3 separate regions of the Homo sapiens genome follow, and all the other regions are linked to region 3. Evidence: promoter capture Hi-C in 16 types of primary human blood cells and fetal thymus (Javierre and others, 2016). All regions are on one chromosome and are shown on one strand. Each heading gives the region's core, a stretch centred on a gene start or on the middle of the fragment in contact. The rest is flanking DNA. Distances are from core to core; before and after follow the strand shown.

What was found. The method cuts DNA at HindIII sites, captures the fragments that hold promoters and counts their contacts. A CHiCAGO score of 5 or more calls a contact.
Region 1: a contact is called between a fragment that was not itself captured here and the fragment with the promoter of MYOD1 in region 3, in 1 of 17 cell types (endothelial precursors). The highest score is 5.1, in endothelial precursors.
Region 2: a contact is called between a fragment that was not itself captured here and the fragment with the promoter of MYOD1 in region 3, in 1 of 17 cell types (fetal thymus). The highest score is 5.0, in fetal thymus.

What each region holds. Positions count from the first base shown.
Region 1 is chr11:17,553,229-17,556,908 of GRCh38, forward strand. OTOG (otogelin) reads left to right here. Exons shown (of 56, transcript NM_001292063.2): 6 at 137-291; 7 at 2,551-2,669. Among named protein-coding and RNA genes, the nearest start is that of OTOG, 7.8 kb to the left of the region's middle. The HindIII fragment of the contact is 984 bases long and covers 759-1,742 here.
Region 2 is chr11:17,929,298-17,932,907 of GRCh38, forward strand. All of the region lies in intron 9 of SERGEF (secretion regulating guanine nucleotide exchange factor), which reads right to left. Among named protein-coding and RNA genes, the nearest start is that of SERGEF, 82 kb to the right of the region's middle. The HindIII fragment of the contact is 1,331 bases long and covers 1,347-2,677 here.
Region 3 is chr11:17,717,515-17,720,975 of GRCh38, forward strand. It overlaps MYOD1 (myogenic differentiation 1), which reads left to right and starts at 2,057. Exons shown (of 3, transcript NM_002478.5): 1 at 2,057-2,898; 2 at 3,388-3,461. The coding sequence starts at 2,269. RefSeq lists an enhancer at 3,006-3,461. The HindIII fragment of the contact is 6,670 bases long and covers 1,539-3,461 here.

The sequences.
Region 1 (3,680 bases), core at 1-2,500, 170 kb before region 3:
CCCACCCCCAGGAAGGGACCTGGGTGCAGGGAAAGCTAGGGAGAAAGGGAGCAGCACTTCCAGGGCTGGAACCCACCAGCCTCTGGCTTGGTGCCCACTGTAGCTACACAGAGAGGTTCTCTTTTCTCTCCCTCAGTGTACAATGCCGGCCCTGAGAGGGACAGCATTTGCCGGGCGTGGGGGCAGCACCACGTGGAGACATTTGATGGGCTCTACTACTACCTCTCCGGAAAGGGCAGCTACACCCTGGTGGGTCGCCATGAGCCCGAGGGACAGAGCTTCTCCATCCAGGTGAGGCCTCCCCTGCCTTGCCTGTCCAGGAATGCTTCTCTAGGCCCTGGAGGCTGCACTGGCCTGGGCTCTACTTGTCATAGTTAGAGAGACTGGCACCTTCCTCCTTGCATCGCCCCCCAGCTCCCACCCAGGCAGTCTGCACCTGGAAGGAGCTGGGGACTCCACAGCTCTCGCTCACCCACTCACCCTGGCCATTCATTTATTGAGCCACTCATTCATCAAGTATTTACTAAGTGCATACTGTACTCTTTTCTGGCATAAGGTCTGGTGGCGGGAGGCCCTGTAGACAACAACACAGGTATAATCTTTGTCTTCTCAGAACTTATAGTCTAATGAAGAAGGACATCAAATCAGAGGACTCATTTCAGGTGCAAATGAGTGCTATGGAGGAGAAATGCCAAATGCTAAACGAACATGTCCTGAAAACCTAATCCTGTTTATTCGGAAGGATGGTGACCTGGGAAAGCTTCCTGGAGAAAGTCACATTTAAGTTGAGGTTTAAGGAATAAATTGGAGTTAGCCAAGTGAAGAGTAGGAGAGTGTGGGCAGACTTGAGAACATTCTGGGGAAAAAGATCATTGGGTGCTAAGAAAGAGACTAGGGCCTCAGAGAAATGATGGAGGTCCTGGGTGACTCAGTTTAGAGTCACCTCCTCTAAGAAGCCACCCTGGATCTCCTGACCTTCCAAGCTGGCTGAAGAGCTCCTCACTGGGTAACTCAAAGTTCCATATTATGACGCTGTCATTGTATTTCTCTTACAAAGGTCTGGTTTTGGGTTGGTTTTCTCTACCAGCTGTGAGCTTCCTAGGCCAGGGGTCATGTCTCTCTCTTTGACAGTGCCTGGATTGGTGCTCAGTAAAGGTTTGTGAAATATAGGAACACGTGTGAAAGCCACTGTCATGCAGGCCTGATTTTCATGCCTAACCTGTGTGCTAAACTGGGAGTCACCTTCAGCCACAGCTCAATACCCCTCCACCTGGAGGAAAGTCTCTTTGGAGAACCAGCTCTGTTGGAGGGCACCTTGGTCAGTACTGAGTTAGGGTCAAGGGGTTGGGGGTGTGGGGAGACCCCAGTGTTCAGTGTCTCCCCTCTGCTAGCCATTTGTGATCCTTCTGTCTCAGTCATGGACCTATGAGACTGCTCTAGGGGCCATGCCCTGGATGGGCGGGGAACTGCAACCAATTTTCCTCTCTCTGCCTCGGCCTATCACATAGCAGAGATTTTCATGACCTATCATTTCATGATGGATATGTTACAATTACTTAGACTAATGCATTGCCATACACTCGTGGGTTACAAAATCAACTTAACGAATCACAACCATCATTAAAAAATGAGACAAATAAAATAGAAAATATTGTAAGAGTGTATTACGCATGATAGAGATAAGTATTATTTTGTAAAATTTTTAGTTATATATATTTCTTATTGTAGGTCATGGTCACAAAAGCTTGAAAACCCTTTAGTTAGACCATGGGGTAGCTTTCACAGTTCCCACTTGTAGTTGAAGTGGCTCCAGCCTGCTTAATCACATTGAACAGTAATCTGATGGAAGGTGCCTTCCTGGGAAGGGTTTCCACACTTGGCAGGGATAAGCTCTGGGAAGCTCTCCCCTCTACCCCACCCCGTCCTTTGGGTCTATGGCCTTTGAAGTCTGGGTTCTGTCTGAATGGCGGGGGCAGAGATGTGTGTGTGTGTGTGTGTGTGTGTGTGACAGCAGCACAGGAGTGAGATGTGTGCCGATGGGTGTAGGGGAAAGTTACAATCTGTACCTGCCAGGGGCATGGGGGAAGGGGAGTGTGTGTATAGTGTGTGCACTGAGAGTGTCATGGGAGAAATTTATGGGGTGTGTATAGATGTGTGTGTTTGTGTTCTGTATGAGTGTGAGATGGTGGAGTATGTCTGTTGGCCTTCAATCTGATGGTATTTCCTGGGTAGGATAAAGAGAAAAGTTCAGAAATACGGAGATGGCATGATTGACTGGGAAGAGCCCTGGAATCTGAGCCATCCAGACCGGGGCTAGAATCCCAGCTCTGGGATTTCCTAGTTTTCTGTGTGTGGCCTTAGTCACTTCACCTCTCTGTGAATCCATTGCCTCCCCTCTGTGATGTATGGGGACTGAGCGAGATCACAGAGGAAAGGCAGTTGGTATGCAGGGGACAGCCATCGGCATTAGTGAAAACTCAATAAGGTGTGAAGCTCAGGGTCAGGCCTGTGGCAGGAGCCTGCAAACCAGCCTCTGAACTCCCTACTCAGGTACACAATGACCCGCAGTGTGGCTCTTCACCCTACACCTGCTCCAGGGCTGTCAGCCTCTTCTTTGTGGGTGAGCAGGAGATCCATCTGGCCAAGGAGGTCACCCATGGAGGCATGAGGTAACTCTAACACCTTCCACATCGAGCTGTCCTATCCCTGACACTGGTGGTGGTGGATGGGTGAGCATCCGCTCTTCTCAAGCCCAAAGGAAATTGTTTTCTGGGGACAAACAGCAATTTCCACTATCTGGGCGGAAGCATACTGGCAGATCACTGGGTTTCTTGCCAGTGGGGTTTGCAGAATGATTTTTTTTTTCCTGGAACTCTCAGATATTGCAGATTTCCAGACAGCAGGCTTTCAGGAAAATAGAGTTTTCCAGTGAGTTGAGAGTTTATCATGATAAGCATGCTTACTTTTCCCTCCCAAAATCTTCCCAAATGGATCATACACAGTTTCTACCTCCTCTCAGCAGATTCGGAGTACACTTCCATTTCTGATGACACAGGGTCATTGTGAATGTCAGTTATCTTGCTGGGCCAACAGGGATGCTTGGAGGACCACCAGAGGAGTGGGGACCCCTTGCTCCCATACTAAAATGCCCCAGACTGTGGTCCTTTGTGAAATCTTTCCTGCATCTCTTCCTCACTGTTCTTTCCTTTCCTTGCTGTCCACTGTCACTTCTTGTTGCTGTCATGGGGTCTTCCTGTAATGACACTTCTCCCTGTCCTCATCTCCTGCTTCAGATCTGGAAACTGGGTGACCAAGCAATTGTTCTGGGGCTGAGTGTAAAATTGATGGCCTATAGGTTTCTCCTGTGAATGAAGAGTTGGTAAATGGGTCTTGTGGCTAGTTAGACAGTACTTTTGTTTCCCTTTCCTGAAATTTTGCTGGGTTCAAGGTTGCCAAATTCCAGGTTGGCTAGGGGTCCCTGTACCAGGAAAACTGGGAAAGTGGTCAAGGCTGCTGGAGCCCGCCATCTTTTCTTGCACTCCCAGTTTTCCTCCTCTCTTGGCTTCTGTTTCCACTTGGTTCCTGCTCCCCACCAAAAAAATAAAGCAGATGTTTGTTTATATTCTATCCTGTCTGGGAGAAAGGAACTTGGAGTCACTCACTCTAAGATTTATTCCTGC
Region 2 (3,610 bases), core at 762-3,261, 210 kb after region 3:
TCACTGACGCTATTTCAAACTTCATGCTCAAGGCAGCCACTAAGAGGATAATAGGGCAGCTCAGTTTTTGCTCTCTTTGAGACAGGAAGACACCCCATGGCTGTGAAGGAAAGGCAGGACACGTGTGTGGACATTCAAAATATAGCAAGGAAACCCAAAACAACAGAAAGACAAGAGGAGCTGGAGGAAAAAGCTGTTTGGAACTATGAATCATCCCAAGGTAACTTATTATGTTTTTATATAACAAGCAAAATGAGCTTTCAGCATTGCCATTCATTCATTGTTTTAGCCATTCATGCATTTGTTCAGCAAACATTTGTGGGTTCCCATTATATGCCAGGCGCTGTGCTAGGCAGGCAGGCAGCAGAACATCAGCCTACTACTGCTTACTATGTTCCTGCCACTCTAGCCTTCCTTCAGGTCTTTTGCAAGGTTGTTTCATGCTTCAACACAGTTCTCTGTGTAAATGTTTCCTCTTCCAAGAGGTCTTGCCTGATTTATTCCCCCATCCCACCCTGGACTAGATTAGGCTTGTCTGCTCTATATTCCTACAGCATTTCCTTTTTAACATTCTACACATCCATCATTACTTTATAGTCTCAGATAGATGGTAAGCTCCATGTGAGCGGGGACTGCCTCTCCAGTTACGAGCACAGAGGCTAGAATATAGTAGGATTCGATACATATTCACTGAACAAATGAACAAACTGGGATTTATAGCCAAGCTACAGGCTCTGAGAGATATAGCGGAATAAGTGCAGGATTTGGAGCTCAACAGACCCAAATCTGAACCCCAGCTGTACCACTCATTAGCTAGGTTACCTTAAGCAAGTCCCATAATCTCTCTGAGCCTTAGTTCCTCATGTGTGAAACACAGACAAAACTTCATAGAGATGTAGTGAAGATTAAATAACATGATGTGGGTAAAGTAACTGGCACAAAATAGATGCTCAACAAATGTTATCCTCCTACCCACTTCCCAACTTGCCTATAGTTACGAAAGAGTTGACAACACCAAGGCAGGGCCCCAATTCTATCAGAACTTATCAAAACAGGATTCAGGCACAGGAATAAGGGAAGGTCAAAGATAGCATCCCAGATGACATCTTACTGACTCCCAAGCTTTGAACTTGAGCTCCTTCAGTGTGTCTGACCAAGGTACAATACTAGGCCCACGACTAAGCCTACAGATGGAGGATCCAATGGCTGCAGCCATGGGGAGAAGATGGCAGAGACTGAGCCCATTCCTTTTGGCTTTTGAAGCATTTAGACAAAAGCATACAAAACTCCCTTCCCCATCTATGCTGTCCATAGGTAACTTAATGGAATCCAAAGGTCTACAAGTAAGCTTAGTTAGACCAGTGAGGTTAAAGGCAACACAGCACAACAGGAGGACTACACCTAGAATCAGATGACAGGGTTCAAGTCCAAACTCTGCCACCTACTGGATGTGTGATTTGGGACAAGAGTTTCCCTTATTCAGGTCTCATTTCACCATCTGTAAATCGAAGGGATTAGACTAGGATAGTGTCTAAGGGCCCTTACAGTGAGAAAGATCTGAGATGCTAGCTGCATGTCAGTCAGCTGTAATCAGCAGGCAAAAGGAGAACTCTTCAATCACGCACACCACTGAGCTGACGTCTGCTACACTGCTCTCAATTACACTGCAGAAAAAATGGTCATAAGGAAGAGCTAATATGGTATTTCCTGAGCCTATTTAGTCTCCCAATTCAGCACTGCACCTGTTCCTTCTGCATTTGCAATTTACTAGATAATATCATCACAGGCACTCCCTGAAACAGCTATCATTTATTTGTCACTTGCTTCTGTATTTCAGGTATTCTTTCTTATTTTAAATAAGATTAGGTAGAGTATTAGAAAGACTAATCAATATAACTGCCAAATGAAATTTACCCAGAAAACAATTTTCTCCTTTGTTTCCATTGTAATAACAGCAATATCTATAATGAATTGCTGACCTGCAATAAAAATCATACTACTATCAGAAAGAACATGGGGGCAAAAATATAATGCCTACTTCACAAACATGTAATGCCACACACAGTAAGGTAGCCCATTCATAACCCAGAACCTTTTTCTTACAGAAACACTGCAAATAATACTCAAATGTCCTGGGCCTGCTGCCTTGCAATACTAACCACCTCCATCCAAACACATACCCAACATTCACTAAATGCCATTTAATATGTCCTACCCATTCTTCTTAGGGCTGGAGAACCACAGTAATAAGACACAATTACTGTCCTTAGACAAAGTCTCAGCCTAAAGGTCAAGTGGTCCCAGCTGTGAAAGAAAAAGTGGCAAACTAGAACCCAGTCCATATGCCACAAGGTGACTTCTGTGAGCACTTAGGCCAAAGAATGGACTGCAAAACATCACCCAATATCTGCATTATAAAAGACCACTTAATACTGGGGCTGTGGTTCTCAAAGCATAGTCCCAGACCTTAAGTATCAACACCACCTGGGAACTTGTTAGAAACCAAATTCTCAGGCTCCTTCCCAGACCTACTGAATCAGAAACTCTGGGAGTGACGCCCAGCAATCTGTGTTTTAACAAGTCCTCCAAGTGATTCTGATGCATGCTGAGGTTTGAGAGTCACTGCCCTAAAGCATCCAAACTGCTGCATGTTTGCAGTAAAAACAGTAGAAAACTAAGCTTTCAATTAAACCTAAGAGAAAAGCAATAAAACTGGGTAAGAACAGGTTTTTCAATGTATCTTAAATATTGGTGTTTTGGAAAAAAAAACAGCTTTGTCAGAGAAGGAAGAGAAAGAAATGCTGTGCTACATGTATACATATGTAACAAACCTGCACGTTGTGCACATGTGCCCTAAAACTTAAGTATAATAAAAAAGAAAGAAAGAAAGAAATGCTCTGCTAATGCAACAGGGAATGTCTGCGCGTGTTCAAAAACCTCTGCGGCCTAAGGCCCTAGGCCTTTTCCTGTGTGGTGCTTCATTTCCAAATATAGGCCTTTTCTTCAACTGAGAGCCCATCACTTCAAAGGGTGTTCCCACACATTCGCTGGCAGATCTCTCAGACTCAGCAATCATAATTAAGGTCACTTTTTAAAAAAAATTCATAAATAAGAGGATGGCAAGTAAGAAGGAAAGGAGCAATAAATGTTCCTGGGGTCAATAATTTTAAAATGAAGGTAGAATTTTTGAAAGGATGGAAAAATAAATGTGTGCACATATGAGAAAGAGACTGCTTAGAGTTGAATTTGTTGAGCTCTGAATAAAAAAAGAAAGATGGGAGGATCAGCCCTAAGAGGAGAAAGGAGCCATAGAAGGAGAAAGGAGGTAATGAAGGAATATTGAAACATTTCTTAGCCTCTGCCACCAGGTGGTGAAATCAACCCAGCACAGCTTAGTTGCTGCCCAGAGCTACTGCTTGGATTTATCTTTTCTTGTTTGTCATTGCATTGGGGTGGGAATAGAGATGCGGAACAAATGGAGAGGCAGAGCAACTTCAAGCTGGGTGGCTGGGAGCAGGGAGAGTATAATGAGAAATGGATTGTTTTTATGCATACTAATTCAGTGGCCCTAATTAAAGAGCATCATTATATTTTAAAATGCATGGACAAT
Region 3 (3,461 bases), core at 807-3,306:
TGCTTTTTCTTCATAAGGCTTCTAACCTCCTGGCATCACATACTTCCTTGCTTATTTGTTCATTGTCTATCACCCTGCTTACATTGACAATGTAAGTGCCATGTAAGCAGAGTCTTGGTTTTGTTCATTGCTCTAGCCCCACACTTGGACTGGTACCTGCCACATAATGGATACCTAACAATATGTGGATTTCCGGGTGACCCCCTGCAGCTTGGGTGGGGTGAGGCCAGGACTTTGCTGCCTCTGCCAGGATTTAGAGTTACTGTCACTGCTGCTCCATGATGTAGACTTTACTGAATGAACAAATACAGGTGGGCCCTATGGAGTAAAGCGAGGTGAGTACTTCATGAAGGGAGACCTTCAGCACCACTACCAGCAGCAGAGAAGTGAAGAAGTTAGGACCCCAACAGAGCCCTCTGAGTTTTGTGGGAAGGGAGGACTTCTTAGGGCCCAGAACGGCCAGCTAGAATGCCTTCCAGAAGTTAGTGGGAAAGGCACAAAGATCACTCCTGCTTAAATTTCTGGTTTCCAGGAGGGGAGATCCAGGCAGGGATGTATGGCCAACGGAGATTCCTAGCCAGAGTGCTGAGAGGACTGTGTGAACTGCAGATTCAGGAAGAGGCTGAGAGACCCCCATGGGGGTGGCCGGTATGCTGAGGCTTGTATGGGAGCCAGATATCCCACATCCCATGGGGTGGTTGCCTCCTCCTGTTTCCAGCCTTTCCAGTGAGGCTGCAGGAAAGAGACACAGCTAAGGCCTGGAGACTCGTGGCACTCCGTCAGGGCATGGTACCACAGATGAGTTGTAAGCCTGCGGGACACAGCATCCAACTCTGAAAGCCCCTTGCTCGAATAACCCTACATCACCGCCTGAGGGCTTCCATATCCTTGGTCTCTTCAGACTGTCATCCCCACCACAATTACTCCAAGAAATTACTGTCATCCCCAAATCTATAACTGGAAACTGAGGCTCAGGAAGGAGACATGACTTCCACAAAATCACACAGTTGGGAAACTCTGGAGTCTGCACTCAACTGGTCTGCAAACCGCACTCTCGGAGACTTCAGGTGAGATGAGGTCAGGTTCTCAGGCCAGGTCCTGAAGTTTGACACCTTGGCGAAATGCACTTTCCTTGACTCAGCACCGCGAGTGAGGCGGAGCCAAGCCCCGAGCAGAAGGGTTTTCTTCCCAGCTGAAGAGGCAGCTCAGCCTAGACCCCAGGCATGGCACTGGACACCCCTGCTGTGGAAACGTGCAGATTTAGATGGAGGGGATTCCTAACCTGGGCAGGATCCGAGTTTGGAGAGATTGGCGCGAAGCTTTAGCAGCAATCTCCGATTCCTGTACAACCATAGCTGGGTTTCTAAGCGTCTAGGGAAGAAGGACTGGGCCCACGACCTGCTGAGCAACTCCCAGGTCGGGGACTGGCGGAATATCAGAGCCTCTACGACCCGTTTGTCTCGGGCTCGCCCACTTCAACTCTCGGGGTCTCTCCGCCTGTTGTTGCACTCGTGCGTTTCTCTGCCCCTGACGCTCTAAGCTTTCTGCTTTCTGCGTGTCTCTCAGCCTCTTTCGGTCCCTCTTTCACGGTCTCACTCCTCAGCTCTGTGCCCCCAATGCCTTGCCTCTCTCCAAATCTCTCACGACCTGATTTCTACAGCCGCTCTACCCATGGGTCCCCCACAAATCAGGGGACAGAGGAGTATTGAAAGTCAGCTCAGAGGTGAGCGCGCGCAGCCAGCGTTTCCCGCGGATACAGCAGTCGGGTGTTGGAGAGGTTTGGAAAGGGCGTGCCGGAGAGCCAAGTGCAGCCGCCTAGGGCTGCCGGTCGCTCCCTCCCTCCCTGCCCGGTAGGGGACCTAGCGCGCACGCCAGTGTGGAGGGGCGGGCTGGCTGGCCAGTCTGCGGGCCCCTGCGGCCACCCCGGGGACCCCCCCAAGCCCCGCCCCGCAGTGTTCCTATTGGCCTCGGACTCCCCCTCCCCCAGCTGCCCGCCTGGGCTCCGGGGCGTTTAGGCTACTACGGATAAATAGCCCAGGGCGCCTGGCGAGAAGCTAGGGGTGAGGAAGCCCTGGGGCGCTGCCGCCGCTTTCCTTAACCACAAATCAGGCCGGACAGGAGAGGGAGGGGTGGGGGACAGTGGGTGGGCATTCAGACTGCCAGCACTTTGCTATCTACAGCCGGGGCTCCCGAGCGGCAGAAAGTTCCGGCCACTCTCTGCCGCTTGGGTTGGGCGAAGCCAGGACCGTGCCGCGCCACCGCCAGGATATGGAGCTACTGTCGCCACCGCTCCGCGACGTAGACCTGACGGCCCCCGACGGCTCTCTCTGCTCCTTTGCCACAACGGACGACTTCTATGACGACCCGTGTTTCGACTCCCCGGACCTGCGCTTCTTCGAAGACCTGGACCCGCGCCTGATGCACGTGGGCGCGCTCCTGAAACCCGAAGAGCACTCGCACTTCCCCGCGGCGGTGCACCCGGCCCCGGGCGCACGTGAGGACGAGCATGTGCGCGCGCCCAGCGGGCACCACCAGGCGGGCCGCTGCCTACTGTGGGCCTGCAAGGCGTGCAAGCGCAAGACCACCAACGCCGACCGCCGCAAGGCCGCCACCATGCGCGAGCGGCGCCGCCTGAGCAAAGTAAATGAGGCCTTTGAGACACTCAAGCGCTGCACGTCGAGCAATCCAAACCAGCGGTTGCCCAAGGTGGAGATCCTGCGCAACGCCATCCGCTATATCGAGGGCCTGCAGGCTCTGCTGCGCGACCAGGACGCCGCGCCCCCTGGCGCCGCAGCCGCCTTCTATGCGCCGGGCCCGCTGCCCCCGGGCCGCGGCGGCGAGCACTACAGCGGCGACTCCGACGCGTCCAGCCCGCGCTCCAACTGCTCCGACGGCATGGTAAGGCCGGGACCCCAGGAAGTGAGGAAGTTAGGGCGGCGCTCGGGATATCAGGGACGCGTTTCCGAGGGCGGGGAGCTGGCCTTGCGGGAGGTTTGGGCCAGGATCCTTCCCGAGAGAGAGGACCCCCTTGTCCTGGGCAGCTGTCACTGGGGTAGCCTGTTTTGGAAGTGTGCGGGCAAGCGTTCGAGCTGCCCCATTGGGGGCGCTATTAGAACACTGCAGCGCGAACGTGAAGATCTTTTTCTCTACTTATCCCTACTTCCAAAATGTAAATTTGCGCCCCTTGGTGACTGTCCGCCCTTGGTTTGGCCCTGCATGTTGCAGACCTCATCTCCTACCCACCCGTAATTACCCCCCCAACCAGGACAGGTCTGGGCCCGGAACTAGAGCCTTAGGCTAGAGTTAGGGAGGGGGCGGCTACAGGAATTGGTGTTCGGGCCTCGAGCCGTCCCGCGGGCCTGACTCAGTCGCCCTTGCTGTTTGCAGATGGACTACAGCGGCCCCCCGAGCGGCGCCCGGCGGCGGAACTGCTACGAAGGCGCCTACTACAACGAGGCGCC